Regions from separate parts of the Homo sapiens genome. Here all the other regions are linked to region 1. The links are contacts of gene promoters, found by promoter capture Hi-C in human tissues and cell types (Jung and others, 2019). All regions are on one chromosome and are shown on one strand. Each heading gives the region's core, a stretch centred on a gene start or on the middle of the fragment in contact. The rest is flanking DNA. Distances are from core to core; before and after follow the strand shown. Region 1 holds the start of FITM2 (fat storage inducing transmembrane protein 2). Region 2 overlaps YWHAB (tyrosine 3-monooxygenase/tryptophan 5-monooxygenase activation protein beta). Region 3 overlaps IFT52 (intraflagellar transport 52).

What was found. The method cuts DNA at HindIII sites, captures the fragments that hold promoters and counts their contacts. A contact is called where the count stands out against the background at its distance.
Region 2: a fragment that was not itself captured here is called in contact with the fragment with the promoter of FITM2 in region 1 in 1 of the 25 tissues and cell types used here (hippocampus).
Region 3: a contact is called between a fragment that was not itself captured here and the fragment with the promoter of FITM2 in region 1, in 1 of the 25 tissues and cell types used here (dorsolateral prefrontal cortex).

Annotation. Positions count from the first base shown.
Region 1 is chr20:44,308,541-44,313,189 of GRCh38, reverse strand. FITM2 (fat storage inducing transmembrane protein 2) reads left to right here and starts at 1,988. Exons shown (of 2, transcript NM_001080472.4): 1 at 1,988-2,214. The coding sequence starts at 2,042. RefSeq lists enhancers at 1,936-2,085, 1,682-2,411, 2,376-2,465, 2,412-3,141. The HindIII fragment of the contact is 18,619 bases long and covers 1-4,649 here.
Region 2 is chr20:44,889,313-44,893,614 of GRCh38, reverse strand. All of the region lies in intron 1 of YWHAB (tyrosine 3-monooxygenase/tryptophan 5-monooxygenase activation protein beta), which reads right to left. Among named protein-coding and RNA genes, the nearest start is that of YWHAB, 5.8 kb to the right of the region's middle. The HindIII fragment of the contact is 5,673 bases long and covers 1-4,302 here.
Region 3 is chr20:43,647,259-43,651,615 of GRCh38, reverse strand. It overlaps IFT52 (intraflagellar transport 52), which reads right to left. Exons shown (of 14, transcript NM_016004.5): 14 at 4,317-4,357. Among named protein-coding and RNA genes, the nearest start is that of MYBL2, 18 kb to the left of the region's middle. The HindIII fragment of the contact is 6,998 bases long and covers 1-4,357 here.

The DNA of each region.
Region 1 (4,649 bases), core at 739-3,238:
GGGTGAGGCAGGAGACTACCTTGAACCCGGGAGGCAGAGGTTACAGTGAGCCAAGATCAAAATAGCTTGGCCTCCCAAAGTGCTGGGATTACAGGCGTGAGCCACCACGTCTGGCCTAAAATGCCCATCTCTTGATATGACTATATATGTGTGTATTGGCTGGGTTTGTGGCTTTTGGAATAAACTTCTGTTGTTTAAAACAAGTTTAGGGTTGGGCACGGTGGCTCGCACCTGTAATCCTAGCACTTTGGGAGGCCGAGGCAGGAGGATCACTGGAGCCCAGGCGTTCGAGATCAACCTGGGCAACATAGTGAGACCCCATCTCTATTTAAAACTAAAGAAAAAAAAAGGAATAAAAATAAACTGAGTTTATAGTAATTTATTAGAGCTGCCACAGGAAACTAACATTGGGGTAAGGGAATGAGTCCAAGGTTGGGAACTGAAATAGACACCCAGCCCTAACCAGGGGTGAGGGGTTAGTTTTGTGATAAACTGAGCAACTGAGTCTCCAACAACTTCATGTGATCTCCCCATTAACCCCCAGCATCCAGCATTTTCATCCAACAGGCATAGATAGCTGTTTTGTGTTTCTTTGTGTGCTTTTTAAGACGGTCTCGCTCCGTGGCCCAGGCTGGAGTGCAATGGGACCATCACAGCTCACTGCAACCTCAAATTCCTGGGCTCAAGCAATCCTCCCACCTCAGCCTCCTGAGTAGCTGGGACCACAGGCCTGAGCCACCAAGTCAGCTAGTTTTTAAAATTATTTCTTATAGATACTGAGTCTCACTGTGTTGCCCAGGTGAAAATAAATTTAGAAATTTAAACTTTAAATGTAATAATTGCACCAGGTGAGATGGCTCACTCCTGTAATCTCAGCACTTTGGGAGGTGAAGGCTGGCAGATCACTTGAGGTTAAGATTTGGAGAGGTCAGATCACTTGAGGACAGGAGTTGGTCAGCCTGGCCGACATGGTGAAACCCCATCTCTACTAAAAATACAAAAATTAGCTGGGTGTGGTGGTGCGTGCCTGTAATCCCAGCTACTCGGGAGGCTGAGGCAGGAGAATCGCTTGAACCTGGGAGGCAGAGGCCTGCAGTGAGCTGAGATCGCGCCACTGCATTCCAGCCTGGGCAACAGAGCGAGACTATGTCTCTAAATAAATTAATTATATTAATTAATTAATTTAATAACTGCAGAGCGTGGTGGCTCACACTTGTAATTGCAGCATTTTAGGAAGCCGAGGCAGGAGGATCGCTTGAGCCCAGGAGTTTGAGACCAGCCTCGACAACGAAGCAAAACCCTGTCTCTACAGAAATAAAAATAAAAAAAATTAGCCAGGTGTGGTGGTGCCCGCCTGTGGTCCCAGCTACTCGGGAGGCTGAGGTGGGAGTATTGCTTGAGACCAGAAATTTGAGGTTGCGGTGAGCTGCGACGGTGCCATTGCACTCCAGCCTGGGCGACAGAGAGGGACCCCCCCCCAACTAACTAATAAATAAATAAATACAATAATTATTCCTAAGGAAACTTCATCTCATGTCCCTCTACGTGTGCCAACGTAATGAACCCCTGAGCTCATAAACTAGCTTTTGGGAAAGGTTGATCTCCTCTTGTCTCTCGCATTTTACAGATGAGAAAACTAAGACTCAGATGGCAGAGGTGTCTCCGAGGCTCCAAGAAAGATCAAATGATGCTGTGACTACTGCTCCAATTCTCCAGGGCTACATTTATCCTCTTCCAGCCTCCAGCAAATACTTTCACAAGCGCTTTTTCCCAGACCAGAGCAAGACGCGGAGGCTCGGGGAGAGGAGGCGGCCAGGAGAGCGCAGAGGAGACGAGCGAGTTCGGGGACCGTCACGCGCCAGAGGCAGCAGCGGCCACGAGGGGGAGCGCGCGGGCTCCGGAGCCCAAGCACGCCTCAAGCTGTGGGACTCGCGGGCAGTGCGCATGCGCTCGAAGGGAGGTGGAGGCGCAGGTCCGGGCGAAGGGCGATACGGTGGCCGAGAGGGCACGGAGAGGAGGACGGTGGCTGACGAGATCCGGCATGGAGCATCTGGAGCGCTGCGAGTGGTTGTTGCGGGGGACGCTGGTGCGGGCGGCCGTGCGGCGCTACCTGCCCTGGGCCCTGGTGGCCTCCATGCTGGCGGGCTCCCTCCTCAAGGAGTTGTCCCCGTTGCCCGAGAGCTACCTCAGCAACAAGCGCAACGTCCTCAACGTGTGAGTGCACCCCGGTCCTCCGCTGTCCCCGCCCGAGCCGGCCCGCTGTCGCCTCGCCCAGAGAAGCCGGTGCTAGCTGCCGTGGTGGACGAGTCATTGGAGGGGAGGTCCTCCTCCTAGCCGTGACAGCAGCATCTGCACGCGTGTCACGCCTGGGAGGCCCCGGGGTAGCTGGTGTCACTAGCAGTTAGTGTTTGCAGACCCACTTTGGGCAGCATGAGCTTGACTGGGCAGGTGGTGACAAGCGGGGTCGTGTGTGTCTCTGTATATGTAGGGGTGTGGAATGGGGTGGGGATGAACCAGCCCCTGTCACCACTCCCCCGCCTCCCCTTGGAGTTAGGAGCTGACCCCTGCCCTGTTTGGGAGATGCCATCTCACCTCTGTCCTGCCTGCCTGTGGCAGACCCCGCGCAGACCCCACCCTGCGTCAGATCAGATCCCTCCAGCGCGTGACAGAATCCCTTTACGACCTGTGGAAGAGCCTCGCCCCAGCCTGTGACAGGCAGAGCCCCCGCCTGTGAGATACTCACAGAGGGCTGGAACCCCCTAGTCTGTGCCCTTTCCCCTGGATCTCCTTGGATCATCTCAGCCACTCAGAATGCATGGCAGTGGCCCAGAAAAGCAATCCCAGCTGGGCGCTTTGAGACATCTCCTTAACTCCACCCATCCACTCCTTTGCTTGCTTACTTGCTTTTTTCAAAACTCCCGGTTAGTAAGTTTATTGCACAAAAACTCTGTTGCGGTCATAAAGGGAAACTCTGAAAGATAAAACTGCTCCCTTGATGTGAGCCTAAGTGTTTTCCAGAATAAGTGTCTCTGGCGTGTCCTGAAAGTCAGCCCAACTTTGGTTATCTGCTTAAAACCCTGGTTCCTTTCACAGGCAGCTTCCTCAAATGCCTGACGGGTCTTGGCTCTGGCAAGATCTTCCTTATCAGTCCCAGTGAAGATTTTAGTGACAGGCCTGGGGGTGGTGCCTGAGAATCCATTGGAACCTAGAAAAAAGTCCTTCTGTCCTTGGTCCACCTTCCTTCCTCACCCACCCTGAGAGGCTGGGCTAAGAATAGATCATGAGAGTGGTAGTGGCCCCAAGTCTCTGTCCTGGGTTTAGGTCAGCCACCTTTCGTGAACGCTGGGGAGGCGGACAAGGCAGCTGCTGCTTCCTCTGGCCTAGGTGAGCTGGGAGCCAAGTGGCCTGGCTGACAACACACCCCTGTTGTTTGAAGGTAGTCATGGATCCTGGAGTTTTGTTCCAAGCCTCTGTGCTGATTAATGAGAGGGAACTAGTGAATCCTGGGATATAGAAGGGACCTTAAAAATCATTTGGTCCTCTCAGCTCTGTTTGATAGCTGAAGAAACTGAGGCCTGGAAAGGTAGGAGGTATAGTAAGTTAAGTAAGAGTGAAGATTTGAACCCGTAAGAGTGAAGATTTGAACCCCGGTCTTTTGGCTTAAAGTAAGACCTTGTTGCAAGACTGTTTCTGCCGTTAGGAAAGAACCAGGCTGGGCGCAGTGGCTCACACCTGTAATCCAGGCACTTTGGGAGGCCAAGGCAGGTGGATCACTTGAGGTCAGGAGTTCAAGACCAGCCTGGCCAACGTGGTGAAACCCCATCTCTACTAAAAATACAAAAATTAGCCTGGCGTGGTGGTGCGTGCCTGTAATTCCAACTACTGAGGAGGCTGAGGCAAGAGAATCACTTGAACCTGGGAGGCGGAGGTTGCAGTGAGCTGAGATCATGCCACTGCATTCCAGCCTGGATGGCAGAGTGAGACTTTGTCTCAAAATAAATAAATAAATAAAAATAAAAATACAAAAATTAGCCGAGTGTGGTGGTAGGTGCCTGTAATCCCAGCTACTCCGGAGGCTGAGGCAGGAGAATTGCTTGAACCCGGGAGGCGGAGGTTGCAGTGAGCCGAGATCGTGCCACTGCACTCCTGGGTAATAAGAGTGAAAACTCTGTCTCAAAAAAAAAAAAATCATTTGGTCCCCCCAGCTCTGTTTAATAGCTGAAGAAACTGAGGGCTGGAGAGGTAGGAGGTATAATAAGTTAAGTCAGAGTCAAGAGTTGAACCCGTGTCTTTGGCTTAAAGTAAAGCTCATTGTTGTAAGACTGTTTCTGCCATTAGGAAAGAACCAGGCCAGGTGCATGGCTCATATCTATAATCCCAGCACTTTGGGAGGCTGAGGCAGGATAATTGCTTGAGGCCTGGAGTTCAAGACCAGTGGGGGCAACATAGCAAGGCCCCATCTCCACAAAAATAATAATTAAAAAAAATTAGCCAGGCACATTGGTACACACCTGTAATCCCAGCTATTTGTGAGGCTGAGGCAGGAGGATTGCTTGAGCCCAGGAGTTTGAGGCTGCAGTGAGGTGTGATTGTGCCACTGCACGCAAGCCTGGGGGACAGAGTGAGATCCTGTCTCAGAAAAATAAAAA
Region 2 (4,302 bases), core at 1,425-3,924, 580 kb before region 1:
TTAAGAGCAATGGGGGCTGGAGGGACGAGGCTGCACAATATTTTATTTCTGTAAAATATCCCCTAAAGAACAAACAAACCCGAACAGAAAGGTTACACCAAATGGTTAACACTGGTTCTGTCTCTGGGTAATAACATTATTATATCCTCATTTTCCTATCTTTTTAAATTTTCTTCAAGTATGTATTACTTTTTTAAAAATTGGGTACTATTTCTTTTTTTAAGAAAAAAAGTGTTTTTCTGTTTAAAGAGAAACCACTAGTGCAGATAAACAGCTATGAAAAATAATTCTAAAGGTACTCACAAAATAGGATTTTCTTCAAAGAAACAAAATCCTAAATCAGATAATAAATGCTGAAAATAGAGGATCTAGGAAACAGCCTAGCCCCTCTATCCCAATTCCTTCCCCAAGGGACATCTTTCTAGTCAGGGTCAAAATACTGAGAAGTTATTTCCCAGTGGCTAGAGCAGATATCCTAGGAGAAGAATCAAAAAAGAAAGAAAGAAAAGAAAAAGAAGACTACCTACTGCTAATCCATTTTTTTTTAAATAAAGGCAGTGCAAAGACAGAAAGGGTTGAAAATGACAGCTGTGGCCTTTAGAAGCACTGGCTTTCAGCTATGTTTTGTTTTCAAGGCAAAGAACATGCTCGATTCGAAAATAATAAGCTTTGAATTTAATAATTTGTTAGAAATTTCAGATGAAGACTCCATTATTATATGTCAGGAATTACCCAAGCTCTATACATATAAAATATACGGTGGGGTCTGCTTTTAGCAAGCCTTACATACACATCTGAGCTTCTAAAGAGAAAGTAGGTGATTTTTCTACATTTCCACATTATAACTTACCTGAATCTGTTTTCTCAGTGTTAAAAAGAGACATTAATAGCTATCAAATAAGATAATGAACATAAAATGCCCATATAGTGCTGGTTAGAGTAAAGGCTCATAAGCCATTCTTATTTTTTATTCTTAAGCTACCTCACAAAAATGTAACACATATAATCCAATGTGTGTTGAAATAACTAACAAAATGAAAAACTACCAAATTTCTAAGAACTCTTTGGATTATTCATTGAGAGGAATTTAAAAGAAAGCAGTGTAGTCCTCCCCTCAGAGAGCTTAAACTCTAGTGGTAGAAACACAAGAAAAGAGCACATGTATATCTATTACACATCAATTAAAAAAAAAAACAGCACACGTTTAAGGGTTACAATGCCTCTCCTTAGAAAGCCAACCAGACAGAACTAGAGGAAATAGGTTTAAAGGTAGCTAGGTCGTGACTTAAAAAGAGATGTTATTAATAAAGTGCATGTATGTTTTTCTAGATGAGATAAAAATCAAAGGCCAAAGCAGATAAAGAAATGAGAATAAGGAAGAAAACTGACAAGAAAATCTGAAAAATCTAGGCTCGAATGTTTCAATGGGGTAAGGAACTGATCACATATTCTGAACAGCATTCACAGATGTACCATTCCAGATAGAGCATCCACAGCACTGTACAGCAGAAGTTTTAGTTCTGGAGTCTCTCTGCTGAAGAAAAATCAGATGCCAAGCTACTGCAGAAGGGACTGAGAAAGTCAGTGGGACCAGGTGGTTAGTGGGTGTTACCCAGAAAAAGTTAAACACTCCTGGCTCTCAGAGAAAACTACTCACTAAAAAACACCCACTATAAAACTGTCTGTGTGCCATTCTACATATAAAATTTAGAGTCCTGTAATAAATTTAATTCCATTCAAACATTTGCAGGTTCTTTGTTAGGAAACAAAACACAGCATATCTGTAATACAAAGTCATTAGCACTAAGTCCAGTGAACACTGAATTTGGAGAGAAACTGCATTTCTATTATTTCAAAATCCCTTCCCTCTTTCACATCAGCTGTTGCATATCATTGCTAATTATGTCCAATTAGCCATGATTAAACTTACTGAGGGTGTTAAGTGACAGGCGCAAGGTTACACATGTGACTTAATGGTAGATATGACAATAAATTGACTTCTTGGCTTAAGTAATCAATCCAAAAGACACTATGTTAATTCTGATCCATAAAGACAGCCCAATTGGTTGACCTTATGAATAATTTCTACAGTTTGGGGCCCACTGACATAATGAAGCCTATCAGTCTGATTTACCAGTACCGCACACCAAGTCCACAGGCTATGTGACCTCTGTGAATTTGTTTTCTCATCCATAATACAGGCAAATCTGGGCTGGGCGTGGTGGCTCACGCCTGTAATCCCAGCACTCTGGGAGGCCGAGGAGGGTGATCACTTGAGGTCAGGAGTTCAAGACCAGCCTGGCCAACATGGTGAAACCCCGTCTCTACTAAATATATAAAAAAATTAGCCGGGTATAGTGGCAGGCGCCTGTAATCCCAGCTAATTGGGAGGCTGAGGCAGCCTGAAGGCAGAGGCTGCAGTGAGCTGAGATCACGCCACTGCACTCCAGCCTAGGCGACAGAGCAAGACTCTGTGAAGAAAAAAAAAAACATAGGCAAATCTACTTACTAGGGTTCCTGTAAGGAGTAAACCTGTTTATGATATAAAACAGTAAGCACTCAAATAAATGGCAACCACAGTACATTCCACACAAAACTTAAAAAACCAATGGTCAGCCAGTGAAGGGAAACTTACTATGTACCTCATTTATTTTACACGTACTCTGCTTTCTTTAAAGACTTTTAAAAGAAAGGCACATAACAATTTCCCTATGCTTATTTCTAAAATGGCCCTTATCACAGTTTACTGCAATGCAAGTGTCTCTGCTGGCTCCCACACCGGATTGTGAGCTTAAAGTAGGAATCCAGCCAGGCGTGGTGGCTCACGCCTGTAATCCCAGCACTTTGGGAGGCCGAGGCAGGTGGATCGCAAGGTCAGGAGTTCAAGACCAGCCTGGCCAAGATGGCGAAACCCTGTCTCTACTAAAAATACAAAAATTAGCTGGGCGCAGTGGCAGGCGCCTGTAATCCCAGCTACTCAGGAGGCTGAGGCAGGAGAATTGCTTGAACCCGGGCTTCAGAGGTTGCAGTGAGCCAAGATCGTGCCACTGCACTCCAGCCTGGGTGACAGAGTGAGACTCCATCTCACAAAAAAAAAAAAAAAAAAAAAAAAAAGTAGGAATCCAGACTTGTATCTTTGGACACCCAATGTGGAGTACAAGGCCTAGCACACTGAGTGACTGCTTGATCAACTGATGCATTCTTAAAAAGTGAAAAAGCAATTATTTCCTACGTGGACAGAGGAAGGTAGCACACATCTGACCTATAAAATACAGACTGTTTTTATTGTCTTAGACTACTTTTTGAAAAAAGCCAGCCAGCTCTCATCAGGAGCAACACTATACATTTTGACTAATATTTTTCAGCTACCAATCATTGTATTTATAGATTCAAACTGACTTTCAACAAGCCTTTGGATTACTTTCTGTCCATCTCCTCCATTCAGAAGTCCAATCAGTTCGCTATACAAAAAGTTCACTATACAGAAACCCAAACCAGCTAACTCGTTTAGTAAATAACAAAAATATCCATCCATCATTTATGGCCTGCAAAGCACTCAGGGATTCCTAGAAACGCATTTGATCCTAAGTATCCTATGAGGCAGGTGACATTGTCCCGTTTTATAAATGCAAAGAGTTAACTCATTCAGGGTCACACAGCTATATATGGCAGATCTGGGATCTAAACCAACATTAATTTTAAAATTAATGCTCTTTCCTTTATGTAACCCTATCTCCTAAAGATCAATTATGAACTCCAATGCTCACTTAAGGAAAAGAGAGAATTGTCAACTTTTAAAAGAACTATACAAGGTTGTTACAGTGAAATTTTAAAACTGGCCTATTAAGCTAATGTTATCTAGCTTTAAAAATAAAAACAAAATCAAGGAGTTAAAAACAGCATAAAAACATGCCAAAGACTTACCAAAATGTCAAACAAATTTTAAAGGAAAGCTCTTAGCTGAGGGCAAATAATAATAATAGACAGGACTCATATCTACTTTATTGTAGCCTTCAATCTTCTTGTCCTGGTCAAGGCCATTCAGAAATAACCTCCTGTTGGTTCTTTTAGGGAAAACAATAAAATAAACTAACCAGTACGGGAAAAACTTACATAATAAAGAACTGGCCAGAATTTAAAAAAAAAAAAAAAGTTAACTAACCTACAATCTGCTAGGAATGACTTGAGGCCACTGATCATTTACATCTCATTACAAGTATCAGATACATATAACCACACCTCTATTAGAAAATCTTTTAGTTGAGAAAGCAGTAAGATGATTGGCCTTCAGCACACATATCA
Region 3 (4,357 bases), core at 217-2,716, 660 kb after region 1:
ATAACAAAATGGCAGTGAGGGCACACCTTCCTTCCCATTTTATTATATTCATGGATTCTGGGAGTCAGGAATTCACAAAGAACACAGCAGGGATGGCTTGTCTCTGCTCTATGACATCTGGGACCTCAATTGGGATGACAAAAGGCTGAGGTGCTTGATGGTTGGGGCCAGGAGTCATTTGGAGGTATCATCATTCATGTTTGGCAAGCGATTTATACCAAGATGCTGGTATAGACTGAGATCTCTGGCTGTTGGCCAGAACACCTATACATGGCCTATCCACGTGGCCTTGGACTTCTTACATGGAGGCTTGTGTTCTAAAGGTGAATGTCCCAAGATAACCAGGCAGAAGCTGTATAGCCTTTTATGAACTAGCCTCAGAGGTCACCAGCATCACTTCTGCCACGGTGCCAGATTCAAAGATTCAGAGGAGGGAACAGAGACCCCACCTCTCAATGGGAGGAGCATCAAGCCCACAGGATAAGAGAAGAGCATTTGGGTTGGGAGACAATCATTGAACACATTTTGGGTATGTATTTGGAACACACTGCCACAGCACTCCCCAGGCCTGTCCTCTAGCTGCTTATCTCCCAGCTTTGAGCTAGAGCCCCCAAATTCTTCTGCCCCTGGAGTGGCTTCCCCGTTCCCCAGTGCCCTGCCCTGGCTGGCAACTCTGAATAAGCCGTGTACTAGGGCTTGAGTATGGGAGAGAATGGAAGCCTATGAACAGAGCTTTACCATGAAGAAATCATTTGAAACTCAGGATTTGACTTGAGCTGTTCTTCCCAAGCTTTTAAATTTCTAACACTACTCTTTGACAAATGATTCTCATGACTTTAATTAACCACTCCATATGAACAACTCCACTCTTGAGACTGGACATCTTTTCTAAGCCTAAATTAGGGATTTCCAGCCATTTACTAGTTATTTCCACCTGTATTAATTGCCATAGTCTCAACTGGACTCTTATGCTCCAAAACCACTCATCCTTCAGACTCCCCATCTTTTTTTTTTTAATAGAGTTTCCCTCGTTACCCAGGCTGGAGTGCAATGGCATGATCTCGACTCACTGCTACCTCCACTTCCCGGGTTCAAGCAATTTTCCCACCTCAGTCTCCTGAGTAGCTGGGATTACAGGCGCCCGCCACGCCAGGCTAATTTTTGTATTTTTAGTAGAGACGGGGTTTCACCATGTTGGCCAGGCTGGTCTAGAACTCTTGATCTCAGGTGATCTGCCCGTCTCGGCCTCCCAAATTGCTGGGATTACAGGCATGAGCCACCGTGCCTGGCCTAGACTCCCCATCTTTTAATAGCTGCCCCCACTGTCCCAGGAAATCAAGCCCCAAATCTTGCCAATCTAACTTTCAACACCCAGACCAAAGTGTTTCAAAATGCCACCTTTCCTATAATACCACCTTAGTCCACATCCTTATTATTTGCTCTTGGGGTTGTATCAAACTCTTCTGTAAATGACCATCCTTCTACCATTCCCATCTTTATAGAACCCACCAGCTAAACTATTCCCATTGTGCAGCAATGGGAATTGCTCCTCCCCTCCCCCCTCCCCCCTTTCCTCCCACCTCCCCTCCCCTCCCCTCCTCTCCTCTCCTCTCCCTTCTCTCCTCTCCTATCCTCAGTGGCTCTGCAACCTTCCATCTGGCTTTCAGAGTTCCCCAAAGCTGGTTATCTGTGTATGTCAGTACACTGCTGTGCATTTCTATACACCAACTGCACCATTCTGACAGGTGCAGTCTCTCCCATTGTCCCATGACAATACCCTCTAGCCTCCTTGGAACAGATGATTAAATTTGGCCCTACATTATAACCCAAGATGATGATAGAACTGAGTGCTTCAGGAAGCCAGAGGACAGGGAAGAAGCATGGGTGGCCCATTCTGGAGTGCAGTGGTATGATCATAGCTAGTGCAGCTTTGAACTCCTGGGCTCAAGCAATCCTGCCACCTCAGTCTCCCAAATACCTGGGACTACAGGTGTGTGCCACTATACCTGGCTAATTTTCATTTTTGTAGAGATGGACTTTCACTTTTGTTCCCCAGGCTCAGCTTCTAAATCAGGAGTATCTAATCTTTTGGCTTCCCTGGGCAACATTGGAAGAATTGTCTTGGGTCACACAAAATACACTAACAATGGCTGATGAGCTAAAAAAATAATAATAATGGCCGGGTGCAGTGGCTCACACCTGTAATCCCAGCACTTTGGGAGGCCGAGGCTGGTGGATCATGAGGTCAGGAGATCGAGACCATCCTGCCTAACACAGTGAAACCTCGTCTCTATTAAAAATACAAAAAATTAGCCAGGCATGGTGGTGGGTGCCTGTAGTCCCAGCTACTTGGGAGGCTGAGGCAGGAGAATGGCATGAACCTGGGAGGTGGAGTTTGCAGTGAGCCAAGATAGCGCCACTGCACTCCAGCCTGGGCAAAAGGGCGAGACTCCTTCTTAAAAAAAATAAAAAAAATAAAAATAAAAATAATAATAAACACATCTATCTCTTAATTTTTTTTTTTTTTTTTGACAGTCTTGCTCTGTCACCCAGGCTGGAGTGCAGTTATGTGATCTTGGCTCACTGCAACTTCTGCCTCCCAGGTTCAATGATTTTCCCCACCTCAGCCTCCCAAGTAGCTGGGACTACAGCTATGAGCCACTATGCCTGACCATGTCTGGCTAATTTTTTTTTTTTTTTTGAGACAGTCTTGCTCTGTTGCCCAGGCTGGAGTGCAGTGGTACAACCTCAGCTCACCACAACCTCTGCCTCTGGGGTTCAAGCGACTGTCCTGCCCCAGCCTCCTGAGAAGCTGGGATTATAGGCCTGCACCACCACACCCGGGTAATTTTTGTATTTTTAGGAGAGACAGGTTTTCGCCATGTTGGCCAGGCTTGTCTTGAACTCCTGACTTCAAGTGATCCATCCACCTCGGCCTCCCAAAGAACTGGGATTACAGGCATGAGCCACCGTACCAGGCCTCTACACCTGGCTAATTTTTGTATTTTTTGTAGGGACAGGGTTTCATCCTGTTGGCCAGGTTGGTCTCTATCTCCTGGCCTCAGGTGATCCACCCACCTTGGCCTCCCAAAGTGTTGGGATTACAAGCATGAGCCACTGCACCTGGCCTCATAATGTTTTAAGAGTTTACAAATTTGTAGGCCGGGCGCGGTGGCTCACGCTTGTAATCCCAGCACTTTGGGAGGCTGAGGCGGGCGGATCATGAGGTCAGGAGATCGAGACCACGGTGAAACCCCATCTCTACTAAAAATACTAAAAATTAGCCGGGCGTGGTGGCGGGCGCCTGTAGTCCCAGCTACTCGGAGAGGCTGAGGCAGGAGAATGGTGTGAACCCAGGAGGCAGAGCTTGCAGTGAGCCGAGATCGCGCCACTGCACTCCAGCGTGGGTGACAGAGCGAGACTCCGTCTCCAAAAAAAAAAAAAAAGTTTACAAATTTGTTTTAGGCCACATTCAAAGCCGTCCTAAGCCACATGCAGCCCATGGGCTGCGGGTTGGACAAGCTTGCTCTACATGGTTGTGTCCTATGGGCAACTGGGAGATGAAGGGATGAGATCTATATAAGGAAGGTATCTGTCTACTCTTTTATCTTCTTCTTTAGGTACAGTGGGGTAAACAGACTATGGGTTAAGTTCTGTATCCTTTTTTTTTTTTTTTTTTGAGACAAGAGTCTTGCTCTGACACCCAGACTGGTATGTGGTGGTGTGATCTCAGTTTACTGCAACCTCCGCCTCCCGGGTTCAAGTGATTCTCCTGCCTCACCCTCCCGAGTAGCTGGAACTACAGGTGTGTGCCACCATGCCCGGCTAATTTTTTGTACTTTTAGTAGAGATGGGGTTTCACCATGTTAGCCAGGATGGTCTCGATCTCCTGCCCTCGTGATCCACCCAACTCGGTCTCCCAAAGTGCTGGGATTACAGGCATGAGCCACTGCACCTAGCCTCCCATCCCCCCCTTTTTTTTTTGAGACAGAGTCTCACTGTCACCCAGGCGGGAGTGTAGTGGCGTGATCTCGGCTCACTGCAACCTCTGCCTCCCAGATTCAAGTGATTCTCCTGTCTCAGCCTCCCAAGTAGCTGGGATTACAGGCACATGCCACCACACCTGGCTAACTTTTGTATTTTTAGTAGAGACAGGTTTCACCATGTTGGCCAGGCTGGTCTTGAACTCCTGACCTCAAATGATCCGCCCGCCTCGGCCTCCCAAAGTGCTGGGATTACATGAGTGAGCCACCGTGTCCAGCCACTGTTGTATCCTTTCAACCGGTCCAGAAAGCTGTACAGTATTTACAACAAGCTTGAGAGTTAATTATGTCTTTGATAAAAGACTCAAATCCAG